Regions from separate parts of the Homo sapiens genome. Here region 1 is linked to region 2. The links are contacts of gene promoters, found by promoter capture Hi-C in human tissues and cell types (Jung and others, 2019). All regions are on one chromosome and are shown on one strand. Each heading gives the region's core, a stretch centred on a gene start or on the middle of the fragment in contact. The rest is flanking DNA. Distances are from core to core; before and after follow the strand shown.

Region 1 (3,334 bases), core at 102-2,601, 520 kb before region 2:
GCAGGAGGCTAAGGGAGAGGTCAGAGCTAGAGATAGGCATGGTAGTTGCAGAATTTCAGTACTGAAAGAAATCTCTGGAAGACATGAAGGCCAACACCCTCATTTGATGCATGAGGAAAGAAACTTAGAGGCGTGACTTGTCCAAGGTCATACTGCCAGTAAACAGCATGACCAGAACCAATCCATATCTTCTAGTTTCTTGGCGAGTATAATTGCCACTACATCACAGTTGCTTCTAAGCATCTTTATAGAAAGGTGGCAACTGAAGCCATGAAATTCTCAGGCAATCAGCATTTTAAATTACTCTTTCTAGGCTGGGTGCGGTGGCTCACATCTGTAATCTCAGCACTTTGGGAGGCCAAGGCGGGTGGATTATTTGAGAGGTCAGGAGTTTGAGGCTAACCTGGCCAACGTGACGAAACCCCATCTCTATTAAAAATACAAAAATTAGCCAGGCGTGGTGGTGGGTGCCTGTAATCCCAGCTACTCGGGAGGCTGAGGCAGGAAAATCACTTGAACCCGGGAGGCGCAGGTTGCAGTGAGCTGAGATCACACCACTGCACTCCAGCCTGGGCAACAGAGCGAGACTCTGTCTCAAAAAAATAAAAAATAAAAATAAATAAATAAACTACTCTTTCTAGCCTAATGGCAACATCAGGGGGACAGTACTATGATGACAGTGGGCACTGCTTTACATAGCTAGAATCGTTGCTGAAATAATACTATCCAGTTTTATTAAAACATTTGGACACGTTCAGCCTGGTTATTCATATAAGGTCCAGGACAGCTGCTTTCGAACTCTAAAATTCGACAAGATTCCAATGATCATGAGCCATGTTCTCAAGCTTCTGATTTGGGCCTTTTTTAAAAACTGCATTTAATTTATTTCTCTTTGCTCATGAAACACATTCTGCAAGATTAGTTTATTACAGTGTGTTGATAATAGTATAAACATTATACATTCCTGGAAGTACAACAAATATACCAATCCAACAGTCTTCATTTTCCTTTTCTGCCTTCCTCTACATTAGAGCAAACTATTTCACCTATGAGGCAAAGACATTAATTCAGAAATGGGAAAAGGCCATCTAAATATCAGTTACAATAACCAGTAGAAGACTGAACATATCCATATCGTGCTTAATGTAGGAATGTTTGCTTACGTGCCCAAGTTAATAGTTGAGCAGAAGTCACAACAAATTATACTGCACGTACTCAACTGTGGCTCTGACCACATAGGATGCAGCTCCCCTTCCAGTAACAGCTACTTGGAGATAGTTAACAGTAAGCAATGCAAACACAAACTGAAAAGGTTATCTCCAGCCAGAAAAGAGGGAAACATGAAACCATCTGCCTTATTTGTTAGAGTTCTCCAGTTTTACATGCCTTCTGAATCACTCTGGGCAAGCTAAGTAACATACTGAGGGTTGATTCCTTAGCAAACTTGAATTACTGGCTAAAAAATGTTATCATTTGGCAAATGTCGATAATTTGAGTATTTCACATTTCAAGGGATACTGAGATTGCAGCTTTACAAAGAACTCTTGCCTTCTCTGCATTTATAGTAAATATTGTATCTCTTGTTGGTATTGACCTTTCTTCCCCTAGTTCTGCTTCTTTTCTTTTTTTTTTTTTTTTTGAGATGGAGTCTCACTCTTGTTGCCCAGGCTGGAGTGCAATGGCAGGATCTTGGCTCACTGCAACCTCCGCCTCCCGGGTTCAAGCAATTCTCCTGCCTCAGCGTCCCAAGTAGCTGGGATTACAGGCACGCACCAGCACACCTGGCTAATTTTGTATTTTTAGTAGAGACGAGGTTTCTCCATGCTGGTCAGGCTGGTCTCCAATTCCCAACCTCAGGTGATCCGCCCGCCTCGGCCTCCCAAAGTGCTGGGATTACAGGTGTGAGCCACAACACCTGGCCTAACTTTTCTGGGTACTACTTAGCAACTTTTTCATTGTCCCAGTTGCATCTTTGTCTTCTCACCAATGACTTACAAGCCTGTTAGAGGTTTTGTTTCTACCCCATAGTTCCTCTTTGGAAGATATTCCCCCCTAGTATTAAAAAACATTATTCTGGATGGACTAGTTGCCAAGTTGGCACTATGGGAATTAGAAAAGCTTAAATAGTTGTACCTTTCTATGAATCATTTGGCTTTAACTTTTTTCAGAGAAACATTGAATTCTGGGTCACTTTGTGACTGAGTACTTAGCAAAAGTTGCACAATATGGTGAAGAAACAGAAAATTGCTCCTCTAACACATAAAAAAAGCTATTTTCATGTGATTTATCCTGGGAGTTTGGTGATGTGCAACCCTTGGATTTACGCATTTGGTCTGGAAATGCTCCCTAACTAGAAATCAATACTTCACATCTCTTTATTCTGAACTCACCAAATACTTTTTTCATGTTTCTCAATCCATTTTCTAAATTCAGTTTTCTGTACTTCTGATGTGCCATTTGCATAAAGCCAGAGCAGTGGGGCCTGCCCTATGCTCTGTCCCAAAGCCCAGCTGGAACTGACTCTGGGGCATGCAAGGTAAGCAATCGAGGCATGAGAATGTGCATCCCTGGCCTCTTACCGCCTACCTGAAAGGAAATCACCAACACTCTGGCCAATCTGCTGCTATGAGAGTAGGTAAGAGGAGTCCTCCGGGTAATCAAAATCTAATCTAAATCAAGGCTTTATCAACCTAAGTTAGCAACTGCAGTTCTACAACTTGTACAAATTCAGACAGTGAGGCAAAGATGCTCCATTCCCAACTCCGGGCAGCACACAGAGGTTGGGCTGCTGGGTAGTGGGAGAGCTGGGGCCTGGGGTCTTTAGGGTGGGCTGCAGGGAGATCTCCTATAAGAATCTGCAACCAGATCCAGATCAGAATCAAGGGAGCAGCAGCGGCATCACGTATCCGTGTATGGTCTCATCACTGCCACTGTGGCAAGAGGACCTCCACATGAGCTACACTGGTGTAGAACTTTCTGTCCTTTCCATCTACTGCCAGTGATTGTTTCACCTCATCTAATGGATAATAAAGTTAGTTAACTATAATTTAATATAGTTAAATGAGAATAAATGAAGTGAGAAAAAAAGGACCTCCATGAGACACAATGCTATTACTGTTCTGTTAGACACATACTAGTCCCAAAGGCCTCTAATCCCTCACTTTTGATCATCAGGACGTCCATCAGGGCCTGAGTCCTCTTCTGCTTTCTTCTCTTAATGTCTCTAGGACCACCAATCCTGAAGCTACTGCCAAGGTCCCAATCACTCCCTTTAATTTCAGTACCAGAAAAACAGAATCTACAAGTTTAAAGGAATCTAAAGAACCACCAATTC
Region 2 (3,548 bases), core at 767-3,266:
GGGTAAACAAGCAGTGAATCCTGGAATATATCACAATAGGTAACCCATTCAAAGTGCTTAGGCCTCCCTGGTTTTCTATTTTGGGTCATATCTGTCTTAAGGAAACACTCTCTCTACCAAAGCTGAACTCATAAAATAGTAAAAGTCCTCCCCCGCCCACACACACAAGAAATAATTTCCCATTATTAGCTGGATTTAATAAACATTTTCTTCCAAAAAAAAAATTTGTCCCTGCTCAGTAGACTTCTCTTTATGTGTACAAAGCACGTGCCAAGTTAAAGACCATGTCAGGCACACTTTGAGACACTTTCCGTTTTTTAAAAAGTTCTTTCTTAATAAACATTCAAAAGGACCAATTTGTTTAAAAGTCTTTCAAAGCACAATTCACTACAGGTCGTAGAGTTCTTTAAACCCTCAGCAGGATTCTTTCTTGACTTTCTCATTGCTTTGTGCAATCTTTGTATTTAATCATTTATCCCCGAATTGGTCTTCGCAGTGTGGCTTTTAACAAGAACTGGGTTTTAGCCACATTACAGTAGACGCGGTGGGGGCGGAGGGCAGCAGTGGCAATCGCAAAATAAAACGTATCATAAAGTGGTAACGGTTCGTGATTTAGGCCAGTTGTTGAAAAATAAATGCCTGTTATATAGAATCACAGAACTTGAGAGCTTGCGGCCAAGGGAAGTCGTTCATCGGTGGACCGACAGCGCCCCGGGCGGCAGAAAGAAGGCGGCGGCGGCGGAGACCCGGGGAAGTTGCCGGATTTTTAAAAAGGCACCTGCTGGGTGAGTCCTCACTGTGCAAACGGGAGCCACAGGTGCCCGATTTTAAGGGGCTACAACTCGGGAAAACCTAAGTCTGTAAAACTAAGTACGTTAAACTAAGTAAGTTCTCGCTGTGCACCAAGTTGATGGGGGCGATTATTTACGGCGGAGAAACTGAGTGGAGGAAGGAGGGAGAATTCCGCTAAAGTTTGCCTGCGACTGACAGCTAGGGAGTGACCTGGAAGCCAGGAAGAGGGGCAGAGAGGAAACTAAAGAAGTAGGTAAGAGAGTCAGTTTATGAAAATAGAGCCTGCTGTGGAGAGCAGCAGGCACACCTGCGGAGGAGGGGGCTGCCTCACCTGCGGGGCCGCTGCGCGCCCCCCTAAGTGTGTTAGCGGGGGAGGCGGGGCTGGAAAGGAAACCTGGTGAAGGGCTGGCCCGGAGCCTGGGGTGGGGATATTCACTGCGGGATAGGGCCAGCAAGAGGACCCGACACGCATCGTCCCGAGTGACACGTGTAAATGTCAAGATACAGAGACATCTGCAAATGTCACCCAAGAGGGTGAGGACGGGGGAGCGGTCCCGAGGCTGTGCCCTCCGGGGCAGGTACTGGCTCCTGTGGGGCTGCGGGCCAAGTGTCGCCCTTCCCCAAGGAATTGGCACCTGGGGGGGGGGGGTCGGTCTCGCCGCGCTGGAAGCGCAAGCCCCGGGGCTCCGGAGATGCGCCGGGGCGCGTCGCCCCTCGGGGCAGCCCTGGACCTCGGCGCGCCCAGGCGCAGCGTGCGGTGCCCTCGGCGGGGCGGGCAGCGAGCCGCCCTAGTTCGGCGACTTACCTCGGGCCTCGCAGGGCGCGAGCAGAGCACCGGCCAGGGCGAGCAGGAGGGCGCGGGCGGGGGACACGGGCAGCGGGCGCGCTGCCATCGTCGCCGGCCTTCAGTGCAGCAGCTCTCGGGCCCGGCGGCGAGCGCTGCACCATCCCACGCGGGCGCCGAGCCGGGGCCGGGCGTCGCGACCGGAGGGATTTCCTGCCTCGGCGAGTCAGCTCCGGAGCCCTCGCGCAGCGCCCGCGCCGCCGCTGAGCTCTTCTAGCCTTTCATTTTTAAAAAAGTTTCCCCCCGTGTGTGTGCGTGCGTGCGCGCGCGCGCGCCGTTCTGGCACAAGCCAGCCTTGACCGTTGCAATAAATGAGCAAACTGTCCGAGTTGGCCCGGGGACTAGGAAGAGCGTTAGTGAGAGAAGGCAGGCCTGTGAAATGGATCCACGGCCAGCAGTCACCGTTCTTATTACCGCGGAACAAATTATTGTCTCCCCCGCACCCCCGCCAGTTGGCGGCGTCCCGCGGGTCCTAGAGACCGCTCGGGTCCCCCCGCCAGGGTCCCGCCCCGAGCCGCGGCTCGCTCACCCCCGAGGGTGGGCGGCTCAGACGTGGCTCAGTGGCGTCCGGGCGCCCGGAGCGCACACGTCCCCGCCCCAGGATGATGTGGCCGCAGGGCCCGGGGCGCCCGGCTGCCAAGCGCACATGCGGCGGCACGGTCCAGCTTTTCAGGCTGAAGCTGGAAACGATGACTCTGCTACTCGCTCCCCGGCTCTCTGGGAACCCTCGGAGTGCGGGTCAGGTCTCCACCGCGGCCCACAGCCCGGCGCGCGACCCCGCCCGGCCCTAAGCGCCCAAAGGGGCATCTCTCGCCCGAGAAACAAGCTTGGACTCGCAGGCACAAGACACCTGGGCGTTACTTTTGATCAACAGTGTTAGGTTTTACGTTGATAGATTGGCTCACGTTTCCATTCCATGACCTGGACCCAGAAAAGGGTGTACAGTGACGTTCCCCAAACTTTCCTGATTGTAAGAAGCACCTGGGTTGGCTTGTTAAAAAGATTCCCGGGCGCCCTCCTACGCTTTCAGAATGAGACTCTCCAGGCTGTGAGGCCAGGGGAGCCCAGGGTGTTTGGAGAAACACCAATGAAAGAATGGTGCGCCTTGCCTTCTCATCCTTGTTCCGGGCTGACCCCACCTCTTCAGCCTCGCTCGGCCCTCAGGGAGACCATGAAAAGCAGCAGCGAGGGGGCCCGCACAGACAGAAATGGCTGGAGCTATGGAGGATGGCTGATGCCCACCCTGCGGGTTACCATGATTCCCAACCTTGGGGACTTATTAGAATAGTAAGAGTTAAAGACATTGCCAGCCCCAGACACCAGTTAACTCAGTTTCCCACAATGCGTGGAGCTCAATAGTTTTCAAAGCCTCAGGTGATTCTACTGTGCTGCTCAGACCTAGGACCACCTGCAGAAATTCCATCCTGGTCCTGCGACCTCGCACCGATTCCTGACGGAGCACCCACTCCTAGGAGGCGGTTATCCAGCATTTGAGGAAGCTGCCTTCCATACCATCTCTTCCCACTGCAGAGGAGTTTTCTCAGGAGTTCCCTCCCACGGCAGGTTTTGCAGTGTTCCCAAAACCCAGGTCGATCCTCCTAACAAGGTGCAGGACTTTCTTTTTAAAAAACCTTAGTGGGAAGCACAGGCTCTCCAGCCCCCTTCCCAATGCTGCCATATCTCAGTACCAGATCTGGAAACCAGGCCTGGTTCAAGCCCTGTGTCATATCTAACCGTACTACCAACCAGCGTTGCAGTGTACTTCTTTTGTTCATTCATTCAGTCAATCTACATGAGCAACCCTATGTTAGAACTTGGGAAACTAAACGAGAAAGCCTCTTGCCTTCAAAGACTTTTCTTTCTGATCAAACTGATAAATCATCATTATTGGACAGTGTGAGCTAGTTACTTA

Evidence for each region. The method cuts DNA at HindIII sites, captures the fragments that hold promoters and counts their contacts. A contact is called where the count stands out against the background at its distance.
Region 1: a contact is called between a fragment that was not itself captured here and the fragment with the promoter of ADAM12 in region 2, in 2 of the 25 tissues and cell types used here (H1 embryonic stem cells and dorsolateral prefrontal cortex).

What each region holds. Positions count from the first base shown.
Region 1 is chr10:125,870,241-125,873,574 of GRCh38, forward strand. The region is part of intron 1 of DHX32 (DEAH-box helicase 32 (putative)); the gene reads right to left. Among named protein-coding and RNA genes, the nearest start is that of DHX32, 9.4 kb to the right of the region's middle. The HindIII fragment of the contact is 3,346 bases long and covers 1-3,024 here.
Region 2 is chr10:126,386,461-126,390,008 of GRCh38, forward strand. ADAM12 (ADAM metallopeptidase domain 12) reads right to left here and starts at 2,017. Exons shown (of 23, transcript NM_001288973.2): 1 at 1,598-2,017. The coding sequence starts at 1,685. The HindIII fragment of the contact is 8,947 bases long and covers 1-3,545 here.